Linked DNA regions of Homo sapiens: region 1 is linked to region 2. The links are contacts of gene promoters, found by promoter capture Hi-C in human tissues and cell types (Jung and others, 2019). All regions are on one chromosome and are shown on one strand. Each heading gives the region's core, a stretch centred on a gene start or on the middle of the fragment in contact. The rest is flanking DNA. Distances are from core to core; before and after follow the strand shown.

Region 1 (4,741 bases), core at 1,331-3,830, 260 kb before region 2:
GCTCCCCTCTAACTTCAGTCATGTATGGTTTCAAACAGCTTTATACTTAGAAAACTGAATCCTGGGAGGGCAGGAGGTAGGATGGAGGCCACTGGTTGGAAGAGGGAAGCTTCTAAAGAGGCATGGCAGGTAATGCCTGGAGCCAGGCTCTGTTTCCTGGGGCCTGCTATATAGTTGACGATCTCTGGGGAGGTGCTTCTCTACTAGATTTGTACTGAACACAGCAAGAAGGACAGAAATTAAATATATCAAGCCACTGAACATTAACATTGGAAAACCCATTTTTTATGTAGAGACGGGGTCTTGCTGTGTTGCCCAGGCTGGTCCCAAACTCCTGGGCTCAAGCAAACCTCCTGCCTCCACCTCCCAAAGTGCTAAGATCACAGGCATGCGCCATCTCACCTGGCCGGCATTGGGAAAAACTCTTAAGTTCTTCAGGACCCTTCATTAAACTTTCAGTCCTTCAAGTCAGTATTCTTACCTCTGAATTAAGGCAACCAACACCTAAATAAGTAAACTCGTTTAACAAACCTCACAGATATGATGGGAACTGCCTCAGGTGGGAGTTACTGGCCAAAATGAGAATGGGGGCTGTGGACCTTCCCAGAAAATACGTGAAGCTGAGAGGAGCTTATAACAAACAGTGCTACCCAGAACAAATCCTCTAGAAGTATTTTGCAGGTGTTGCTACAATAAACACTATGATGACAGAAGACAGAAAGTAAGAATCACCAGAGGGGTGTGTGTGTGTGTGTGTGTGAGTGTGTGTGTGTGTGTAACCAGCTGATGCAATCCCCATTGGCACAAATTAAGTTTTATTTAGAACCCAAGCTTGCTGTGCAGAGGCCAATATAATGCATCCTTCTGGATAGCAGAGTATTTTCTCTAATAAAAATTTCTATCAAGACAGAAAAAAATACTGTGGTATTGCAACTTGCTCTCTATCAAATGACCTCTAACACCATGGAATCTACAATTTAGAGAAGGCCAATTCAGACATCTCTAAAGCTGTTGGCCTCACCCTGGTCAATTTCTTAAAGTTTGTGATCATGTTTTAAGTGGATAAAATGCTTTAAATTAAGTTCCCAACTAGAAAATAGAGCAATGAAAAGAAAAAACAAGCCTCTAATTTTTTTTCTTGAAATGATGCACTCATGAAAAATTCTCAACTATGCACAATTTTCTATCCCTAAATGGCATTTGAGAAGAAGGAGGGGTGTGTTTTAGGGCTGGACCCATGACTGGAAGTTTCTACTGGTACCCTGTACCAAAGATCTAAATGTGCCTCACAGTCCCAAAACAAAGACTCTTTCCTTCCAGAATGCCCCAACATTGCTGGACCAGAACAGTAAGCCCCTCCATCTGTTGATTTAATGATATTAAGAGCCCATGTAGTAGTCTCAACTTTAAAGGAATTTTTAATTTTCTTCTCTAATGGCAACATTTTTTTTCCTTGGGTACTAAGATTTCTAAAATAGCAGAGATCAAAGTTATGGGTACAGAAAGAAAAGGGAAAAAAAACTAGTTTACCATTAGGGCTAATTTTGAGAAAGCCAGTCCATTCTACCCTTTAATTCTTGGAACTAAGCACTATATCATCATGGTTGCTAATTCTGAGCATGTACCACATCCTGGAGAACATTATCCTAGCCCTGCAAGGTCCTGTCCCCCAGCTGATTCTATAACTGAGTCTTCCAAAGACCACCACATTGTTCAATCAGGCCAACTACTTCAGGATTATGGGTGATATAGTTAAGACTAATGAATTTCATGAGTGTGAGCTCATTGCCAGATTTCCTTTACTTTGAAATGAGTTGCCAGTCAGAAGCAATGCTATATGGAATATCACAATGGTATATAAGGAATTCTCTAAATCCACTGCTAAGTGCCTGATATGGTTTGGATTTGTGTCCCCACCCAAATCTCATGTTGAATTGTAATCCCCAATGTTGGAAGAGGGTCCTGGTGGGAGGTGATTGGATTATAGTGGTGGATTTCCCCCTTGCTCTTCTGGTGATAGTGAGTGAGTTCTCATGAGATCTGGTTGTTTAAATGAGTGTAGCACCTCCCCCTTCGCTCTCTCTTCCTCCTGCTTCAGCCACGTAAGACAAGCCTGCTTTCCTTCACCTTCCGTCATGATTGTAAGTTTCCTAAGGCCTCCTCAGCTATGCTACCTGTACAGCCTATGGAACCCTGAGCCAATTAAACCTCTTTTCTTTATATTAATAAATTACCCAGTCTCAGGTATTTCTTTTTAGCAGTGCAAGAATGGACTAATACAATGCCCAAATTCCAAAAACAGAGAGAGACCAACACTGAACAATTGATTGGGCCATGATTCCATGGGAAACAACCAACGACCTGGTGGCAAGTTGATTACACTGGACCATTTCCATCAAGGAAGGGATAGACCTTTGTTTTCACTGGAAGAAACAATTACCGTGAATATGGACTTCCCTTCCTCTCCACAATGCCTCTGCCATTTGTGAACTTTCATAATGCCTTATTCACCATTATGGTATTTCTCCACTTGGGTCTTTCCTTTTAGCTGCTCAGGCTTCTTCACTACATGGTAGTTTGTTTCCAAGAAGATTCATTCTAGGAAGAATAAATGGAAGCTTCCAGTCCTCCTTAAGGCTAGAGTCAGAAGTCCCATAACATCACTCCTGTCATATTCTGTTGATGAAAGCAATCACAGGGCCAGCCCGATATAGGGGAATGGGAAATAAACTTCAACTCTTGATGGGGAAATTGCCTGTGCCTATAGGAAGGGAAGGAATTGGTGGCAGCCATCTTTGGAGACTTTCTACCACAGTACCTGATTATTTTTCTTCATCCTTCAAAGAGCTTAGTGCCTTGAGAACACGATGTCCAATTCTATGATGTAGGTAGAGGTTGACATTATTTTGCAAAAAAAAAAAAAAAAAAAAGCAAACTAAGGATCAAAAAGGCAAAGTAGCCAAAGAGTAAACTAATCCAGCAAGTCCAATCCCAAAACATAGCCAGATAGGAACAGTAGGGCTGCTCCCTTTGGGTCAAAGCAAAGGAAAGCATTACAGGTACCCAGCCTGCCAGTACCACCCACCTCTGCATGCCCAGTCATGATTTATAAGAACCTCTTCCTTTGCTTCCCCTCCACCCCAACAGCAACCATTGAACTTCTTTTCCAAGCTCTTGCTCAATTTTGTGAGGCATATGTGCCTACCATCAGCGAGGGCCCTTCAGAGATATACAGCCCAAAATCCAAAGTCCCCCAGTCTTCATTCTCTTGAAGTTTTATCCCCATAAAACTCTGTGTTTTTTTTTTTCAGAGATGGGTTCTGTCTATGTTGCCCAAGTTACTCTTGAGCTCTCAGGCTCAAGCAATCCTCCTTTTCAGCCTCCTGAGTAGCTGGAATTATAGGCACACATCACTGTGCCCAGTCTATGTGTTTTGTTTTTTCTATGTTTGTTTTTTGAGACAGGGTCTCACTCTGTCACTCAGACTGGAGTGCAGTGGTTCAATCATGGTTCACTGCAGCCTCGATCTCCTGGGCTCAAGTGATCCACCCACATCAGCCTCCCAAATAACTGGAACTACAGGCATGCACCATCATGATCAGCTGATTTTTTAATTTTTTTTTTTTTTTTTTTTTTTTTTTTTTTTTTTTGTAGAGGTAGGGTCTCACTGTGTTGCCTCGGCTGGTCTCAAACTCCTGGGCTCACGTGATCTTCCCACCTCAGCCTCCCAAAGTTCTAAGACTACAGGCATGCACTACTGCCCAGTCTCTCTGCTTTTTTTTTTTTTTTCAAGTGCAAGATCTTGTCTTTGAGAAGAGCATTCATCAGAAAATGTTCTATGGATATTACCAAGGGAACAGTGCCATGGTCCAGGAAGTGAAGAAGGGCATACTTGAGAGAAATTATCAAGTCCTCAAAAACTAATTTCCCTATTTTCAGGATATTTGATCTAAAATAAAAGACAGCTTCCTTCCCCTTATTCTGAAGAAGGGGCAAGGCAACATTACATGTGGGGAAGCAACAATGTTATTCATTTATTTGTTTTTTAAAACACTCTGAATTATCAACTACCATGTGCCAGGCTCTATACTGGACACATGGGATATAGAGATAAATTAGTCTCACTCATTTCATGTCCAGTGAACATCAATAGCCAGGTGACCCACACTAACCCAGAGCCTTTGGCTTAGGACATGAAGACTGACCCTTAAGCATGTTCCTGTTGCCAAGCAGCCACTATTATGGGAACGTATCTTCAGACTGTACCCCCAAGAGATTCTTCCTGAAGCAGTTTTGGAAAGATATGCAACCGTTCAACCCTAATAACATTTCATGGAAGGTCTAGTAGGAAATGAAGTCACTGTACATTATCAGACCGTCTTACTGTGGTTGAATGGCATACTCATGGAGTTCAGAAGACAGGACACAACTTTCCTTTACTCTTCCATCAAATCTCCAATAGGTCCACTGAGAGTCCACCTAGAATGCATGTCCAGAACTTCCCCTTATTTTTTCTGGTCTCCTTTCTAGGTCTTCTCTTTGATCTCTTCTGCTCTTCTACTTTCTCTTCAGGACCTTGCTTCAACCTTCGGTGTAGAGTATCTATAAGCTAATAACCTTTCTCCCACTAATACTGACCACATTCCATTGCATAGCTGTCATTTCTTACTATGCTAACAAAGTTTATGTCCCTTTATTCTATTATATCAAAGACCTCTACTCACTAGGGTAAAAAGAAAGA
Region 2 (4,651 bases), core at 2,074-4,573:
TAAGGAATTGGTTCTCTGACTTAAAGGGTGTTGTTATAACAACCATAACTTTGGCTTTTCTCTGGAGTACCAACAACTACTGGTTTGATGCAACCATTTCCCTTTTACGCAAAAAGGTGCACTAAAAGTAGACCACGCATTGTTGTGTATCATTAGGCAAGCAATTTCTCTTCTCTAGGCCTCACTTTTCCCATCTGGAAAGTAAAAGGGTCCAGTCACATGATTTCTGAAGTTCCTTACAGGGTCAGCGTCCTGGTGAGAAAACTATACTGCAGTGCCAAGAGGAATTGATGTAGGATTTTTCTTCTTGGTCCTCGGGCCAGCAATGCCCCACCTGTGCTCGCTCGGCCATGCAGGTGTGTCCCAGCTCACTGTATTATAGCTTGTACCCGCGTTCGGTGGTTCCGAGCTCGTGCACCACACCAAAGGATAATGAGGATACACTGGACATTGAAGGGAGAGGAAGGCAGATAAGAATTTTATTGAGTGTTGAAAACAGCTTTCAGCAGAGAGGGGACACCGGGTTGGTCCCCTACCTGAAGACGGAAAAGTTCCCCAATGTGGCTGGGTCAGGGGCCTTTTATGGACTCAGAATAGGGAGTGCATGCTGACCGGTTTGTGAGTATGCAAAAAAGATGAAAGCAAAGACACCACTCAAAGGTGGGCACGGCAGCGTAGAAAACCAATTAGGAAAAAGTGGGTATATGTAAAACAGGCGAAATGTAGGAATCAATTAGGGGAAAGCACGCCAAACAAGTTCTCACTCTGGTCTGAGGATTTAACTCGTAGCTTGGCTTTCAGGCTTTAAACTGTCTTTGGCCTGGAGGTGGGGGTTTCACCGGGTACCTGACCCTATCTGCCTAGGCATCCAGCTGCCTCCTGTTGCTACCAGAATCACATTGAAAGTGAAACACGCTGGAAACTCTAAGGAAAAGAAACAAGTGTAACTAGGAGATAACAGGCACAGTGCAAAACAACATGTTAACTTTGGGGAAATCCGGCTTCTCAGTGTTTTTTTGGTTTTCCTACTTCTCTGCCAAATACAAAAATAAGCAGCTACTTCCATGGGACTCTCGTTAAAAAAAAAGTAACTTTAATAAGATCAGTGAAAACAATGCTTTGTTCTCCCACAAGTGGCTCAGGAGTAGCTTGCTAAGACACACTTTCTTCCCCGTGGGGCTGATGTCAACAGCCCATGCTTTTGCCCAAACAAAGGCCTCCTGGCACAAGGATGAGAGGCAAAACATCTGAGTCTCCGTAGCTGGCCTTATTCCAATTTGAGGGGAAGGGGCAGCCAGGAGAGAAAAATAACTAAGCTTTTGAAAGGCTTGAAGGAGAGTAAGGAATTACTAAATCTATTTTTTCTCAACAGAATAAAGAATTCTTGAAAGGGATAATGGAAGGGTGCAGCTTTCTATTTGAATTACTCTTTGTTTCACCCTATTCTGCCTAAGGCCACTGCCTTTTAGGCCAATCACAGAATCCCGGTTTTGCCTTTAGTTGCCCGCTGAGCGATGCAGTGGGAGTTGGGAGACCCACACTCAAGTGTTCTCTCTGTGGCCCGTTTCACCCGGTTTAAACTTGGACAAGTGGCTGAACTCTCCGGCCTCAGCTTCCTGCCTGTAAAATGAGAAGGCTCCCTAGATGCTCTCTAGACCTTTTCAATAACAGCGGAATAGGATTGGAGGCTCTCCAGTTCCCCCCCCGGGGACAGGTTAATCTTCAGCCACACTAGCCAAGGTGAGGCAGCAGCCCGCCCGCTCAGCAGGCACACACTGGGGCGGCGGCGCCTCCATTCCTGCTCACACTGCACGCCCACAACCTGCACCAACACCATCGCCTCAGAGACCAATTCACCGCGAAACCATCTCCCCGCTGCAGATCGTGTCCGATTAACATCTGCAAAGCTGAGCTGAGCATATGTAAGCAAAGAAAAAGCAAAACAAACAAGAGTTCTCTTTTTCCGGACCTCGGAATTTCTTTCAAATAAACTCAGAACTGAAAATTGTACGTCCCCAGCTAGAATACGAGGTCTCGGCTGGCCTTGCTTGCGAAAATGCATTAACAAGCCAAAAGGGGCTAGTGACATCTGGGGTGTCTGGGCACACGGACACGGGCCTCAGAGGCAAAGAGCAAGACCGCACTGGGCGACTCGTACATTCTTCCCGCAGGCTGAGGAGGCGACCAAAATATCCCCACAGAGGCAATCGCCGGAGTGCGGGGACAATAGTGCACCCAGCACTCTCTTTTTTTGAGGGGCACCCTTAGACCCTTAACCCAACCCACATCTCTAAGAGACCTCCAGGAGGTGAAGGTGAGGGGTGGTCCACTTCACCCAAAAGAATGCGCCACGGCCGGGGACCGACTCAGCCTGGAGTAACCTTTTTGTAGCTGCTTTCTTGTTTTGGTTTCCCTTTTTAAGTCTGGCAGTTTAGTCTGATGCCCAAGCGGTACCTTTTAAATGTCTCTCTCGCCCTCTTCCAGCAAGTGGCGCCTCTAGAGCCACTCCCTCCCCCGAGGCTGAGACAATGGCCCGGCACCGCAGGGCGGCCCCTAAGGGTATGCAGTGCGTCCAGCTCTCCGGGCAGGGCGCACGTGCGTTTGTTATGGTGCCTGTGCCCCCTCCGCTGCCGCGGGCCTCAATTTGTCGATCCGTAAACCCAGACTCTGCAAGGCGCAATGCCCCCACGCCACCCCACCCCATACTGACGGTGCCGTGGAGAAATCCGTGTTCCCCGGGGCTGTGCGCACGTGGGTTTGTTGTGGATCCGCAGGCTCGCGGAGCCAGAGAGAAGCCAGGGTGGCCCTTTGGCCCTGACAAAAATGCACACACCCCCAACCAAAAGGCGGCCAGCCCCGGAGCCAAGGCAGCTGAGGCGGAGCTGGAGAGAGATTCCCTGCGCCCTACGCGCGCCGCGGGCCCCGCGCCTCCGCTATCCTCCCGCGCCCCTTTGCATCACACTCCTCCCGGGATAGCCCGGGCCGCGCCGCCGCCCACCGCACCCCCTACTCACTCGCTGCACTCTCGGCCGCGGAGGCTGCGGTTGCTCAGCACGCTCGGTGGCGGCCGCCCGCTCCGCGCCCACGCCGGTCGGTATCGGCTCCCTTTGTTAACGCCGGGCAGTGCCCCAGGCGTCTTCCCCAGCCCGGCCCTGCCCAGGACTCCCCTCCCCCAGGTGACTCCAGAAAACGCGCTCGGCAAGGGCAGGATCGCCCGGGAGCTGGGGACCCCACTAGGGAGTCTCGAAAGAGGGGTCCGCTGGGGAAGAACGGGGGACAGAAGACGCACAGTGGAAGGGACTGGAGAAGGAAGGAAGAAGAGCGCGGCGGAGGGGCGGGAAGGAAGCGAGTCGCCTCCGTATGCAAATAGAGTTGCGAAGACTGGGTCGGTCTCCGCCCCCACTCCACCTCTCGCCACCGGCCACACCGCGCCCCAAACCGGCCTGGAGGTCGCTAGCGAGCGGGCTTGGGGTTAAAGACTCTTGATGAAGGCACTGGGTGATGCTAGAATCCTGCCTGCTCTCAAGGAGGGTGGATCGAGGGCCGAGTGGGAGGGGCCACGCGGCTGCGCAAGGACCCCTAAATGCCTCTTCCCCGCTTGGCCGCGAGGGGTCAATCCAGCAGTGTCCGGCTTTTGGTCCTAACATGCGGGTGCTGTACACCCGGTCTCTGCTACCGGCTGACTGCGAGACCCTGAGGAAGTCGCTTAACCTCTCCGAAGACTCGTGTTGCTCTTATCTAGAATAGGAAAGAACAAAATCTTTCACTGCGTTTGGCATTAACCTCCTAACATTGAGGCATGACTCCTACTGGGCGCTCTCAAATGGCAAATACAGAAGGAGAGGAGCGTCCTCGAACCCCTGCACCCAGAGGCTTCCACCCCAAGCTGCAGGCTGAAAGACTGAAGCCTCAGCCTGGATGGTGAAGGGAGCGAGGTTCTTTCTTTTCACCCGGACGACGGTGGGGCTGCTGGGGAAGGAAAGAGGATTAACCAAGCTGCGTACTGACCATCCCCGATAGCCCCAAGGCGATTTCCCTAAGAAAGAAAAACTGCCCAACAGGAGGGCGGAAGGGGCCTTTAAGGCCTCCAGTCCAGCCTCCCATAGCCCAAAGAGAGGATGTGACTACCAGAGGCAATAGTCATATCCCAGTTGTCTACTGAGTGCACACTAGGCACCAGGCTGTGTGCTGGGTGGGAAAGGGGAAAGGAAGGAGATACTGGAAGGTTTGGGGGTCCTCTGGGAACACAAAGTCCAGTGCACACTTAAAGTGCCTGAAGCCCAGGCCCAGAGTTCTGTCTCCAAATGAGGTGCCTACCCCACATCACCAACCTTGGAAAGGGAAGTTACATCCGCACCCTGTCCCCAGCACCCTTCTTCCAAACACTGCTTCCTCCCTGTCCTGATCCTGGCTCCCTTCTGCTGATACTGTCATTCCCTTCCCTGCTGCCCCTGAGGCATTTTTGCTCAGTACAAAGAGCTCCAATTGAAGGGAGTGCCAGCCAGAGTGAATTCAAATCTTTATGACCAACTCGCTGTGCCTTCTTGGGTGAGTTCCACATCCTGTGAGCCTCCCTTTCCTCTTCTGCAAAATGGAGATATTAAGGAAAGCGTTGTTTTCAGGATCCTGTGAAATGACCTACGTGAAACAC

The links. Contacts are between HindIII fragments. The study calls those that stand out against the background at their distance.
Region 1: a contact is called between a fragment that was not itself captured here and the fragment with the promoter of ST6GAL1 in region 2, in 1 of the 25 tissues and cell types used here (thymus).

Annotation. Positions count from the first base shown.
Region 1 is chr3:187,189,847-187,194,587 of GRCh38, reverse strand. No RefSeq gene overlaps it. Among named protein-coding and RNA genes, the nearest start is that of RTP1, 5.3 kb to the left of the region's middle. The HindIII fragment of the contact is 6,597 bases long and covers 1-4,741 here.
Region 2 is chr3:186,929,198-186,933,848 of GRCh38, reverse strand. It overlaps ST6GAL1 (ST6 beta-galactoside alpha-2,6-sialyltransferase 1), which reads right to left and starts at 3,323. Exons shown (of 8, transcript NM_173216.2): 1 at 3,015-3,323. RefSeq lists enhancers at 877-936, 957-1,006, 3,100-3,708 and silencers at 2,903-3,092, 3,333-3,412. The HindIII fragment of the contact is 4,331 bases long and covers 1-3,429 here.